Regions from separate parts of the Homo sapiens genome. Here regions 1, 3, 4 and 5 are each linked to region 2. The links are contacts of gene promoters, found by promoter capture Hi-C in blood cells and fetal thymus (Javierre and others, 2016). All regions are on one chromosome and are shown on one strand. The core of a region is centred on a gene start or on the middle of the fragment in contact, and the rest is flanking DNA. Distances in the headings are between cores, read along the strand shown.

Evidence for each region. The method cuts DNA at HindIII sites, captures the fragments that hold promoters and counts their contacts. A CHiCAGO score of 5 or more calls a contact.
Region 1: a contact is called between a fragment that was not itself captured here and the fragment with the promoter of CD79B in region 2, in 1 of 17 cell types (endothelial precursors). The highest score is 5.3, in endothelial precursors.
Region 3: a fragment that was not itself captured here is called in contact with the fragment with the promoter of CD79B in region 2 in 1 of 17 cell types (monocytes); the score reaches 6.0 in monocytes.
Region 4: a fragment that was not itself captured here is called in contact with the fragment with the promoter of CD79B in region 2 in 1 of 17 cell types (M2 macrophages); the score reaches 6.1 in M2 macrophages.
Region 5: a contact is called between a fragment that was not itself captured here and the fragment with the promoter of CD79B in region 2, in 2 of 17 cell types (naive CD4 T cells and monocytes). The highest score is 5.9, in naive CD4 T cells.

Annotation. Positions count from the first base shown.
Region 1 is chr17:64,254,110-64,256,809 of GRCh38, forward strand. All of the region lies in intron 1 of TEX2 (testis expressed 2), which reads right to left. Among named protein-coding and RNA genes, the nearest start is that of TEX2, 7.8 kb to the right of the region's middle. The HindIII fragment of the contact is 1,885 bases long and covers 389-2,273 here.
Region 2 is chr17:63,930,897-63,933,596 of GRCh38, forward strand. It overlaps CD79B (CD79b molecule), which reads right to left and starts at 1,435. Exons shown (of 6, transcript NM_000626.4): 1 at 1,299-1,435; 2 at 439-489. The coding sequence starts at 1,365. RefSeq lists a silencer at 285-354 and enhancers at 1,052-1,441, 1,415-2,085, 1,942-2,051, 2,062-2,111, 2,685-2,700 and 2 more. The HindIII fragment of the contact is 15,563 bases long and covers 1-2,700 here.
Region 3 is chr17:64,273,640-64,276,339 of GRCh38, forward strand. No RefSeq gene overlaps it. Among named protein-coding and RNA genes, the nearest start is that of TEX2, 12 kb to the left of the region's middle. The HindIII fragment of the contact is 5,259 bases long and covers 1-2,700 here.
Region 4 is chr17:64,296,415-64,299,114 of GRCh38, forward strand. No RefSeq gene overlaps it. Among named protein-coding and RNA genes, the nearest start is that of TEX2, 35 kb to the left of the region's middle. The HindIII fragment of the contact is 5,394 bases long and covers 1-2,700 here.
Region 5 is chr17:64,225,651-64,228,350 of GRCh38, forward strand. All of the region lies in intron 1 of TEX2 (testis expressed 2), which reads right to left. Among named protein-coding and RNA genes, the nearest start is that of TEX2, 36 kb to the right of the region's middle. The HindIII fragment of the contact is 1,470 bases long and covers 655-2,124 here.

The sequences.
Region 1 (2,700 bases), core at 81-2,580, 320 kb after region 2:
ATTCCGCAATGCAACAAGCAGCTTGAGTTCTTTTCACTCAGAGATTCACTCCTCATTTCATAATATTCTGAGCCCCAGGAGACATCATAGCATCAAATCAAAACTCCCCAGGTCTTTGAGCCTTGCTCTTAAAGGAAGATCATGAGTCCCACCAGGCAGTTCTTCCTTCTACTACATAATCAAACTCCTTTTCTCTAAAATGTACTGAGTTTGGAACCTACATGCGACTTGTGCCCTTTGATTTGTTGCCCAGATTAGTTTGTGCTGGGCTCTATCCTATCACCAGGAATGGTGGTTTAATAAACCCTGGAGCTATACTGTCCAATATGGGCACATGGAACTATTTAAATTAAAATTAAAGCTTCGGTTTCAGCTTAATTAAAATTAAAGCTTCCAATTCTCAGTTGCACTAACCACCTTTCAAATGTTTAATGGTCTGTTGTACCATGATGCACAGAGGCACTGCTACAGGGTTGTTTGCATGTTTGATGTGAATTTCCCCTTTAAAAAATAAAAATGAAATTCAACATATAGAAACTTTCGACATATTAACTTGTGTCCTGTTTCATGCTACAAGTGAATACTATAAATTGAACTTAAAGTAACATATGCCACTAAAATACTGCTTCTTAATCAGTTTCACAGTTTGGGCTTTGTGTAAAATTCATTTGCTAAGAATGTTTGAAAATAACCTGTGACTTCATCATGGGCTCATAATTTTATGAGCCACTGTGGACAAACACTGTCCTTTTTTGTTTGTTTGATTTTTAGATACAGGGTCTTATTCTGTCACCAACGCTGTGGTGCAGTGGTGCCATCATGGCTCACAGCAGCCTTGAATTCCCAGGCTTAAGCAATCCTCCTCCCAGCTCAGCCTGCCAAGTAGCTAGGACTACAGGTGTGTGTCACTGCATCTGGCTTTTTTTTTTTTTTTTTTGTAGAGGCAGGGTCTCACTATGTTGCCTAGGCTGGTCTCAAACTCTTGGCCTCAAGTGATCCTCCACTTCGGTCTCCCAAAGTGCTGGGATTGCAGACATAAGCCACAGCACCTGGCCTTTAAAAAAAAAAAATGTACCTTGCACACTGCCCAGTACAGTTGCTACTTAGTAAATACATAGACTAACTGGTCATCTTGAAAGCACTCTTAATTTTATATGCCTACTTCTCATACACAAGTCTGTAAGAGGTTTCCACTAAATGTTCATTTCAGATTCTGAATTTCAACTACCTAACACCAGCCCTATAATTATGCAGTGTGCAGGCATTTTTTTCTCTAGAATATCTACCAAATGATTTTATAGTCCAAAGACACATTTATACTGTGACAGAAAATCCACCAACAATGCTTCATTGTGGAACTATCTTGGAACAAGATTAGCAAAAGTTGATAATTATCAAAATTGAGTAATAGATGCCTGATATCCATTATATTATTCTTCACTTTTGTGTATGTTTTTTAAAATTCCAGAGCAAAAGATATTTTGAAAAACTTAGTCAATTATATACAAATTTGATGAGGCCTCACACATACTTTACAAGATAACTATAACTTAAATATGGCTGGGTTCATAGCACTTTATTGACTATCCCAAGCCAGTGACCTGTTTCATGAAGTCCTCTCCTTGTATGGTCCTGAGGCGTGGTTGTTCCTTTGAATGGGGAAACATCATCAAATCTCGCTGGAGATGGGGTTCAGGCAGGTTTTGCACACAGCAACTCCGAGTTGTCATGTTTGACCACCTGGCTGTAAGGCCAGTAGTCTCTGTCTCCTCTTATCAGGAAAAAAGGTGAAAGATCTGCCCGCATCCAAACACTAAAGCAAACAACTGCAGGCAAGAGCAGAGGAACAGCTGCTTCCGGTCCACCTTGCTCCACACTCAGGACTGCACCCACTGCAGAGATGCCTACAGGTAGGGCCAAGTCTCCCAGGTACGGGTGCTGAATGCTTAGCACACCACAGAAAGTCCAACATAATCTACCTTAGAATGCCTCCATGGATACACCTACTCAGCTGTCTTAGTTTTACCTTCTGCCCTATGGTTACGCTACACATGGAATCATGGGAAATGCTGACTAGGAAGAGAAGCTCATCCACTCGAAATCAAGTTCCCCACAGCCCTGAGAGTCAGCAAACCCTACCCACAGTCCTTTCTGTACATGCCAGGCATGGCTCTCAAGGCTCATTCAACCCTCATAGCATCTTGGAGGTGGGAAAGTGAGGCAAAAGAGGTTAAGAAACTTCCCGAGGCCCCTTGAGCAGTGTCTGGTTCCCAAGCTTCTGCTCTCCCTGCTACACTATGCTGCCTTGTGACATGTCCTCTGCAGAATGGCACCTTCTGAGCCTGCCCTTCCCATATTCCCCTCTCTGCCCCTCTGCACAGCAGCCAGACATCCACGTTGCTCTCTCTCTTGAAATGCTCTGCCCAAGACCCCCAGTTGCTGGTTTCTTCCTTTTCTTTCTTTCTTGGTGCCCTGTTCTTTTCCTTCAGAGGAAGGAGATTTTACACATATTACAATCCAATATATATGATGCATATGTCTATTGACTTGTTTGTTGTCTAGACTAGATAATGTGCTTTGTGCAGGAAGGAACCACATCTGTTTTGCTCCCCATCAGATTTCCAATGCCAAGCACAATGCTTGGCCCTGGTAGATGCTCAAATACTTGCTGAATGACGATCACTGTTCAGTCAATCCTTT
Region 2 (2,700 bases), core at 185-2,684:
GGGACTGGGTCCACTTCTTGTTCCAGAACCCTCTTTCCAGCTTCGACTGCCTTGTTCTTAGTGAGCACTGCCCGGGAATCCCTGAGCCCCTCACATAGTGACCCTGCACTGGAGGGCTCACCCGAGACTCAGCCAGATTCCCAGCTAGACAGGCCCGGGCCTGAGTCCTAGAGGAACCCCCAGGCTCCCTTGCTATGACCCAGAGTTTAGCCCAGCCCTTCAGTGGCCAAGGCTGGAGGGCATGTGTCTGATGAGGATGACAGTGGGCTGGGGGTGGGGCTCAGAGGAGATCCTAAGGAGGCCTGGGGATGGGAATCCTGGATGGGGAGATCAGGCAAGGGTGGGAAGGCGGACCGCCCCCAGGACAGGGACCATAGTCGGACACAGGACATAGTCGCACACAACTTGCCCTCAGAAGCGGCAGGCGAGGCTACTGACCTTTGGGATTCCGGTACCGGTCCTCCGATCTGGCTGCTGGTACTGGCTCAGCTGCTGGGTGGGAGGAAGTGGGCGGGGCCAGTCAGGGCCTCCTCTGGCCTGGGCTGCCCCACCCCTGCATGCCCTCTATGTTCCCGGAGCTACTTCCTCCTTCCATGACAGCAGCTTCAAGACCCCTCGGTCCTCCCTGCCCCCAGTACTTGGGAGACAGATATGGGGTGGGGGTACCGGAAGCCCTGCCCCCAGCCCCCTTTCTGCCTTTGACCCTCATGGTGGCTTTGAGCAGGCATCTGAATGAGACAGGAGGGACAGGGAAATCTCAGTATTTTGAGAGGCCAAGACAGGAGGATCGCTTGGGTCCAGGAGTTTGAGACCAGCCTGGGCAACATAGGGACACCCTGTCTCTCTTTTTTTTTTTTTTTTTAAAGAGAGACAGGAAGAAAGTCACAGCCCGGAGGATCTTTCACCTCCCAGAGGAGGGGACCACATTTGGATCTTGCATCTTCCAGGGTCCGGTTGGGACAGCCTCTCCCCTCCCGACCCCCAGGCACCGCCCTCAGCCTCTCTTCCTCCTGAGCCTAGTTCTTCCACGGTCCTGGTTGCTAACTCTGGTTTGCTCCTCATGCCCAGCTCAGCCTGATGCTCTCCAGGCAGGAGAGGAACTGGGGCCACAGGCTCCTGAGCCCATCACCACGTGCAGCTGACACCCACAGACCCAGGCCCCAGGGCCATGAGAGGGAGACAGGCGGTAAAGAGTGAGAGACAGAGGAGGAGGGTGGAGCAAGCAGGAGGCAGAGCCGCAGGGCCCAGACAGCTGGAGATGAGAGCAAACCCCACAGGCCTCGTCGTGGGTTCTGTACCTGAGAGCAGCAGCAGCAACGCCACCATCCAGTGGCTGGGCACAGGAGACAACGCCAGCCTGGCCATGGTCACCGCTCTGTCCCCGACCCCAAACCCGTGACAACGTCCGAGGCTCCTTGGAGGAAAACGTGTAACTGCACCGGCTGCAGCCTGTCCCCTCCCCGCCTCTTCCTCACCAGGCCCCTTCCTGCCATGCAAATTGGGACCCAGGGGAGGCACCAGCTCTCCGGGGACCCTGGGGGAGGGCAGGCTTTTGTCAGCTGGGCCGCTAAGGTTTGGCGGTCGCCCAGCTTGGGCAGCACAGCTGGGGTCCTCTGTGGATGCCTCTGGGGGGCCTCTCAGTCTTCTGGGGGAAGCCTGTGCTCCCCTCTGTCTGTGCTTACCCCACCGGTGGTCATCCCCTGGGCCAGCCAGCCTCCCCTCTGCCGTCTGCCAACTCCCCGAAGGGCCGAGCCCGGCAAGTCTCTATTCCTGGGCCGTGAGCGAAATAGGCACCTGTCCTATGAATGAACCTGAACTTAGCTCCTCTGTCCTGAACTATTCCTCACCCAGCGGGAAGAGGAGCACTGAAGAAGGACAGGGCAGCCACAGACCCAGGTCAGGCATCTGGAGGGGCCCAGAGCAGAGCCTCTTGGCTGGAGTGCAGGCAGCCATGTTGGAAGTTGACCCTGTGGAGGATGGGAGCCACAGAGGTTCTGGAGCAAGAGCAGGTCAAGTGTGGCAGCCACTGGGAGAAGATTCAGTCCAGGTCTTGGTGAGAGGCCTCCCTTCCTCATGCTGTGAAAGAGTATGTAGGGGCTGCCAAACAGGGTGGATGTAGGTGGAGACAGCTTTGCGAAAATCCACCACGCAGCCACTGGGGGCTTCTTCAGGGAGTTCTTAACTGTGGGACTCTGAGTGCGTTGAATTGTTGTCTGCAGGTCCAGGGGGTCTTGGGCAGGGAACAGGAGCTGGTGTGGGGGAGCCCTCAGGTCCTCCAGCTGTATCCTGCCTGTCCTCAGAGTGCTGGATGGAGCCACAGTGCTCAGGAACTGATATAAACTCACCTTTGCGCCCCTGCCCCTGGGTCCAATGCAGCCCCTTCAGAGATGCCCTTGTGCAGGGCACAACATGCACAAGTGTACACAGCATGCTTGCAGACCTCAGCCCTGCAGCTGAGCCCTCTGAATTTTATGTTTCCTGGCAGCTTCTTTTTTGTCTCTCATCCTCGACCCCCAGGAGAGGAAGAGATGCTAAATCGTCGGTGCCCTCTGTCCACCTCTCACTCTCCTCACAACCCTCCGTTTTCCAGTCTGTGCTGGGGCAGGTCTGTCTGGATTTAGGGAGAAGCAGAACCACCTCCCATGCCATGGTTGGAAGGCAGAGGGTCTGGGTGGTCCCTCTTTAGATCTTGGCCTAGGC
Region 3 (2,700 bases), core at 63-2,562, 340 kb after region 2:
GGGCCCGGTGGCTCACACCTGTAATCCCAGCATTTTGGGAGGCCAAGGTGGGTGGATCACCTGAGGTGAGGAGTTTGAGACAAGCCTGGGCAACATGGCAAAACCCCGTCTCTACTAAAAATACAAAAATTAGCCGGGCGTGGTGCCGGGCACCTGTAATCCCAGTTACTTGGGAGGCTGAGGCAGGAGAATTACTTGAACCCAGGAGGTGGAGGTTGCAGTGAGCCAAGATCGTGCCACTGCACTCCAGCCTAGGTGAAAGAGTGAGACTCTGTCTCAAAAAAAAAAAAAAAGAAACATCATGATCACTTTTACTAGTGGTGCCTACGGCCATCTGGGGGCAGGGAGTAGATCTCTGTCATTCCCATTAAAACAATAAATAAGTAAAAAGGAAACTGAGGGTCCAGGAGCGGTGGCTCACGACTGTAATCCCAGCACTTTGGGAGGCCGAGGCAGACATATCACGAGGTCTGGAGTTCAAGACCAGCCTGACCAACATGGTGAAACCCATCTCTACTAAAAATACAAAAATTAGCCGGCTGTGGTGGTGCGTGCCTCCAATCCCAGCTACTCCGGAGACTGAAAAAGAAGAATCACTTGAAACTGGGAAGCAGCGGTTGCAGTGAGTTGAGATCATGCCACTGTGTACTCCAGCTTGGGCAACAGAACGAGACTCCATCTCAAAAAAAAAAAAAAAAGAAAGAAAGAAAGGGAAACTGAGGCCTGAAGAAGCCAAGTCTCTGGCCTAAGGTCACAAAACAAACCCAGCTTACTGGCAGAATTGGAATTGCCTTCTTTCTATATCCAATCGCCCACTCCACCCTCCTACACCCACCTGGCCTCCCATGTCACTCAGCCATCACGGTGTGACCCACTTAAATCATTATTCAGAAGACCAGTTGGCCCTTCCTGACTGTAAGTCACCCCCAAAGCATCACTGTCACCATTATAATTAGTAAGGCCTCATTAAACTAAGAAGGTACCTGTCCCAGACTTTAGGAAGCCACCTGGTTTCCGGAGGCTGGGAGGGACTATGACATAATTCATCTATCCAGCAGAAAATACTGATTGAATGCCTGCTGGGTTCTGGGGTGCCCTAAAAGGTGCTAGTGAACAAAACCCAGGCCCTGCTCACGAGGAGCTTGCAGTCTAGTGGGAAATTCGGAAGCCCTGCCTCTGCCTGTGTGCACATTATGATGGTGAATGTCACATACCCTGGCCCAGCCCAAGGGATGTTTTCATATATTGCAGAGCAGAGGAGAAAACAGCAACCTTCCCCTTACACTCCAGACTTGCCCAACTGCCTGCTGGGTCTCGCCTGTTGGATGCTAATAATCATCTCAAATCATCCCACATCAAAATACATCAAACAGAACTAGCTCTTAGGCTCTGCCCACCCTCTCTTCATCAATGGCACCCACCTACCCACTCGTTCAAGTCAAGAACAATGAGTTGTCTCAGTTGCATCCTTGTCCTCAATTTCATCCTCTCCTGGTCACATCCAATCCATGAGCAAGTGCTGGGTTGGGCATGTCCAAACTCTGCCCCAAATCCAACCCCACAGCCATCATCCTTTCTCACCTCATGCCTCTGCTGTTACTCAACGATTCCACTTCAAAACGATCATCACAAATCTCAAATGGGCACTGGGCCCTGGCTGGCAAGCCTATATTACCTGGGTGAGTTCACTCTCCCACTCTCAGACCTCTGTGACCACTCTTTCCACAGAAGGCCTAACCTCTCTAGCTTCCTGAGACTTTACTATTGCAACCATTTCCCCCTTTCTCCTGCATAATCAATTTCTTCTTGTCTACCAGATTATTCCAATTAACGTACAAACATGTTCTCCTATCTCCCTTCTGAAAAATTCCCTTCCTCTTGCCCATCACCCCTCTCACTGCTACTCCATTCCCAGCTGTCCTTTACAGCAAAATTTTTCCAAAGAATTCTCTTCCTCTCCTATCATCCTCTTTCACCTGCTCCAAAGTGGCTTCTGATAAGTGGCTTCTGCCTCTACTGCTCCTCTAAAACTGCTCTTGTCACACCACTGATGATCTCCACTCTGCCAAATCCAGAGGTCACATGTGGGTCTCTGTCTTACTTGGCCCTTATACAGTTCTTTTCAAAACATCCATTAAGACCGGGCACAGTGGCTCACCTCTATAATCCCAGCACTTTGGGAAGCCCAGGCAGGTGGATCACCTGAGGTCAGGAGTTCGAGACCAGCCTGGCCAACATGGTGAAACCTTGTCTCTGCTAAAAATACAAAAATTAGCCGGGCGTGGTGGCGCATACCTGCAATCCCAGCTAATGGAGATGCTGAGGCAGGAGAATCACTTGAACCCCAGAGGTGGAGGTTGCAGTGAGCCGAGATCACGCCACTGCACTCCAACCTGGGCAAGAGTGAAACTCCATCTAAACAAACAAAACAAAACAAAACAAAACAAAAATAGAGATCAAAACATCCGTTGGCCACCTCTTAATCTATCCAAGCCTGATTCACTTAGAATGAGCTCTTCTGTTCTCGCCAGGCCATGGTAGGATGGAGAGATGTCAAGTCTCAGCACTCAAGTCACACATTTGTGGTGGTCCAGCAGATCGGACTTAAGAAAGGACGTCAATCCATCCACTGGTGCTGGAAAATGCGAGGGTGGAATGTTGGCCAGGGCAGGCCGTGAGATGTCCACTAGGATCACCAGA
Region 4 (2,700 bases), core at 118-2,617, 370 kb after region 2:
AGAGAAGGTTACATGCAACAATTTGTTTCTGTCCCTGAAATGCTGCTCAGCCTGGACTTTCTGTGCTGGTTAAAAGCCCTTCCAACTCCCTGACCCACTGGCCCTAGCCCCACAGGTGTCCTCAATATTGATCTCACTCTTGACTCCATCCAGCCACCCAGACCTGTGGATTTCATGCCTCTCACAGCTGTGGGATATTCCCCTCGGCCTCCCTCCTGGGGTGGTTTCATAGCCGGTTCTCTAGTCTCGCTGTGTCCAGGCCCGACTGGGCAGAGCAACCCCCCAAGACAGCTCCCATGAGCTCTTTCTGATCACGATGATGAAAAGATTGTAATGGTGACTGCCAGTTATGTACCCAGAACCTACTGAGTGTCTACCATATTGCTTAGGTTCTTTCATTTAATTTCCAAAAGCCTACAGGGTAGCTTCTGTGGGTCCCACTTTAATGATGAGGCAACTTGCCCAAGGTTGGTCAAGGTGACTGAGCTGGTAAACAGTGAAATGCATTTGAACTCAGGACCATGGGACTCCGAAGTTTGTGTTCTTTTCACTTTACTGGTTTCCTTCACTGGCTTCCCATTGCCCAACAGCTGAGTTTCTGAAACTGTGCCCTGGGGACATCACCGTATAAGATGTTAACAATACATTTTCTTTTGCTTTTTTTTGGAGACAGGGTCTCTGTCACCCAGGCTGGAGTCCAGTGTCATGTCACGATCACAGCTCACTGCAGCCTCAACCTCCTGGACTCAAACAATCCTCCCACCTCAGCCTCCCGAGTCACTGTGACTACAGGAGTGCACCACCACACCCGACTAATTTATTTTTATTTTTTGTAGAGATGGAATTTTGCTTGTTGCCCAGGCTGGTCTCAAACTCTCGGGCTAAAGTGATCCTCCTGCCTGAGTCTCTCAAAGTGCTGGGATTACAGGCATTAGCCACTGTACCTGGCCATAAATTTTCCTTAAACAACAAAGTGTGTGGTGGTGGGCATGGGAGGCCTGTGGTTAAATCCATTTGGGACTAGCTCCCTGTGTTGCCCCCTCTTGGAGAATTCCTGGCATATTAGTATAGTAAAGGCTTTGATGCGTCTGCAATTAAAGAACAAAACCCTTTAACCCAGAGTTTTCCAAGGGCACTTTGCCATGGAAGCCTTTTGCACAGAGCATCTGTCAGTCTGAAGGACTGGTGTTCCTCGGCACACAGTCTAGGAACCGCTGGGCTTCTGGCTCAAGTTGCAGGCCCTTGGCCCAGTTGGTTCACAGGCCCCTGTGCAGCTTCTCTGGTTTCACCTCCTCTTGTGCCCTGGGTCAAACTTCTGTTCTGGCCATAGCTCACTGCTCACAATTCCTCCAGCCAGAGAGGGTGTTCATGCCTCCATGAGGGTCTTCCTCTGCCTGGCATTCTGTTTCCGCCCTCCCTCCTCTATGTGCTTTCAGGAATGTACTAGCTGGAATGTCCCCTGCTCAGAAGCATTTTCCCAAGCCTTTTTTTTTGAGATGGAATCTCGCTCTGTCACCCAGGCTTGAGTGCAGTGGCGTAATCTCGGCTTACTGCAACCTCCGCCTCCCAGATTGAAGTGATTCTCATTCTTCAGCCTCCCAAGTAGCTGGGACTACAGGCTCACTCCACCACACCTGGCTAATTTTGTTTTTTTTGTAATTATAGTAGTGATGGGGTTTCACCATGTTGGCCAGGCTGGTCTTGAACTCCTGGCCTCAAGTGATCCTCCTGCCTTGGCCTCCCAAAGTGCTGGTATTACAGATGTGAGCCACCGTGCCCGGCCTGCATTTTCCCAAGCCTTCTAACCAGAGCTAATCACCTACCCCATGATTGCACCATCCATGTACCTAGCACTTACTTTTAGTACAGCTTGTCTCTCTGTGTATATTGAATAATATTTATTTATTTATTTATTTGTTTTTTTTGTTTTTTTTTTTTTGTTTTTGAGATAGAGTCTTGCTCTGTCGCCCAGGCTGGAGTGCAGTGGCACCATCTCGGCTCACTGCAAGCTCCGCCTCCCAGGTTCACGCCATTCTCCTGCCTCAGCCTCCTGAGTAGCTGGGACTACAGGCGCCCGCCACCACGCCCAGCTAATTTTTTCTATTTTTAGTAGAGACAGGGTTTCACCGTGTTAGCTAGGATGGTCTCAATCTCCTGACCTCGTGATCCACCTGCCTTGGCCTCCCAAAGTGTTGGGATTACAGGCGTGAGCCACCGCACCCGGCTTGAATAATATTTATTTTTATGTGGCCGTCTTCTATTGCAGACCACGAACTTCTTTTTTTTTTTTTTTTTTTTTTTTTTTTTTTTGAGACAGAGTCTCTGTTGCCCAGGGTGGAGTGCAATGGCACGATGTCAGCTCTCAGCTCACTGCAACCTCCAACACCGGGGTTCAAGCAATTCTCCCTGCCTCAGCCTCCCAAGTAGCTGGGATTACAGGCGCACGCCACCATGCCCAGCTAATTTCTTGTATTTTTAATAGAGATGGGGTTTCGCCATGTTGGCCAGGCTGGTCTCGAACTCCTCACCTCAGGTGATCTGCCCACCTCGGCCTCCCAAAGTACTGGGATTACAGGCATGAGCCACCACGCCCGGCTGACCGTGAACTTCTTAAAGGGTAGACTGTCTTCTTTATTTCAGAATCTTCAACACCAAGCACAGGGGCCTGATATGCAACAGATATTTGCCAGCTCAACTTCC
Region 5 (2,700 bases), core at 140-2,639, 290 kb after region 2:
ATGAGAATAGTGTGTTGTGGCTGTGGTCACAAAACAACACATTTTTCTTTTCTTTTCTTTTTTTTTGTTTGTTTTTTGTTTTTTTGAGACAGAGTCTCGATCTGTCACCCAGGCTGGAGTGCAGTGGCAAGATTTCAGCTCACTCCAACCTCTACCTCCCGGGTTCAAGCCATTCTCTTGCCTCAGCCTCCCAAGTAGCTGGGATTACAGGTGTATGCCACCACAACCAGCTAATTTTTGTATTTTTAGTAGAAACAGAAATTCGCCATGTTGGCCAGGCTGGTCTTGAACTCCTGGCCTCAGGTGATCTGCCTGCCTTGGCTTCCCAAAGTGCTGGGATTACAGGCGGAAGCCACCATGCCTAGCCAAAACAACACATTTTCAAAAGCTGATGCTCATGGGGTAACATGTTAACAACAATGTACCTTTGGGAAAGGGTTTAAGATTCCATTTTTACTTTTGCATCCATTTTAAAGTTTGAAACTATGTCCAAATTAAAAACAAAAGCAGCATTCCTAACCACTGTTTGGCTTTGGGGATATCATGAGAGCTGCTCCCCTCCCGTCCCTATTGGTTCTACCAGTTGGGATTATCAAGCAGGGTTCCAGGCAGTAAGAGGAGAGAGCTGAAGTTGTACCATTCCTTAAATTCTCAAGCTTCATTTTGAAATAATGACAGATTCTCAGGAAGTTGCCAAAGTAGTACAGAGAGGTTCCATGTACTTTTCACCAATCATTTCTAAAATTTTAAAGGCAAATCTTGTAAGTCAGATAAATTCCAAGTGGTTAAGAAATCATGTTTTTAACTTTCATGCAATGTAAGAAAAATGCATTCCACCTGGCAGAGTAAAACTTCCCCTTAGAAGGACTTACAGTCTTTCTTAAGGTCTTTCTTTAATGGTCAAATTTAGGAAGGCATCTTCAATAGGTATCTCCCAAGTACATGAACAGGCACTTCACCCAAAAGTTCAAATGGCCAAGAAACAAATAAAAAACTCAACCTTACTAAAAATAATACAGAATTGGAAACAAACCGATGAAATAATTTCTCTCAATGATTAAAACATGTATGATGCTGGCAAGGGCACAATGAGACAAACCCTCTCTTGCACTAAGGCTGGAACATAATTAGCAAAAACTTTGCTGAAAACTGGTATTAGAAACTAGAAAATTAGTAAAAACTTTTCTGTAGTATAAAAGTAGTATAAAAAATAATAAAATATTTATAAAAAATAATGGGTGCATCCACAGGGAAAACTCAAGGAGACAACACATAGACATCAGAAAATGACATCAGGCTGGGCACGGGGGCTCACGCCTGTAATCCCAGCTCTTTGGGAGGTCGAGGCAGGCAGATCACAAGGTCAAGAGATCGAGACCATCTGGGCCAACATGGTGAAACCCCGCCTCTACTGAAAATACAAAAATTAGCTGGGCGTGGCGGTGCGCGCCTGTAGTCCCAGCTACTCGGGAGGGTGAGGCAGGAGAATTACTTGAACCCTGGAGGCGGAGGTTACAGTGAGCTGAGATCCTGCCACTGCACTCCAGCCTGGTGACAGAGTGAGACTCCGTATCAAAAAAAAAAAAAAAGAAAATGACATCAATATGGGGGCAAAAAATCCCTAGAATAAGTAATGAAAACTCAGGACAGGTATGTCCTAAACAGATGGTACTCATCAAGTAAGTACTCATCAAGCTGACACCAATGTACAAATGTCTGCACTGGGCAAAAAAAAGGAGAGGGTAGCATTAATTCTCATTTTCTCCATATAACAGGTTTAACAGTAATTGTTATTTGCTAATTTCAGGTATTTCCAAATACTTTTGTGATCTGGAAAAAAAATTATATGTAAACACATGTCAATCTTTTAAAAATTATTATAATCATTATCTTCAGAATATAAAATTGCCCTAGCCAATCCTCCGTGCCTTACCCACAAGAAAACTAAGGCAGAAAGACTCATTTTTATTAAATGAGGACACACTGTATGTATGTATGTAATCTGCTTTTATACTCAAGATTACACACTGAAGTAATCTATCATTAGCAAGGCCTTTAGTTTGAGTTCCACCAACTTGGTAGCAGTCTGGCCCTCTGGCAAATCATTTACCCTAACCAAGCCTAAGCTTCTTTTCATCTGTAAAATGGGAATGGCAACTGACTGTTCAGAAGATTAAACGAAACAACTTAAGCAAAGCACTGAGCATGATCCCTGGCACAGAGCAGCCCTCCCTAATTGTTTACTGTTCTTATAAGCATTTTCTCAAATCAAAGATTATTTCATGCATGATTTTTAATCGCTGTATAGGATGAATATTCCATAATGTAATTCAAGAATACCACTTGAATTTCTTATTACAAACAAGACTGCAATGCTGCACATGATGCTATAGATAAACCTTTGACTAGCTATAGATAAACCTTTGACTGCCCTCTGGTTATTTCCTTAGGAAATATTTCTAGAAGTGAAATGAGAGAGTTGAACCATATGTATACATCTTCACTTCAATAAAAAATATATAATTTCAAACTCATTGAAAAAAACTTCAAAAACAGATGTAGAGGAAAAGTGAAATTTTCTCCTCCTCCCTGCAAAATCAGCTTCATGGAAGACAATTTTTCCACGGACCAGAGGCAGCGGGGTATGGTTTCGGGATGATTCAAGTATACTGCATTTATTGTGCATTTCATTTCTATTGT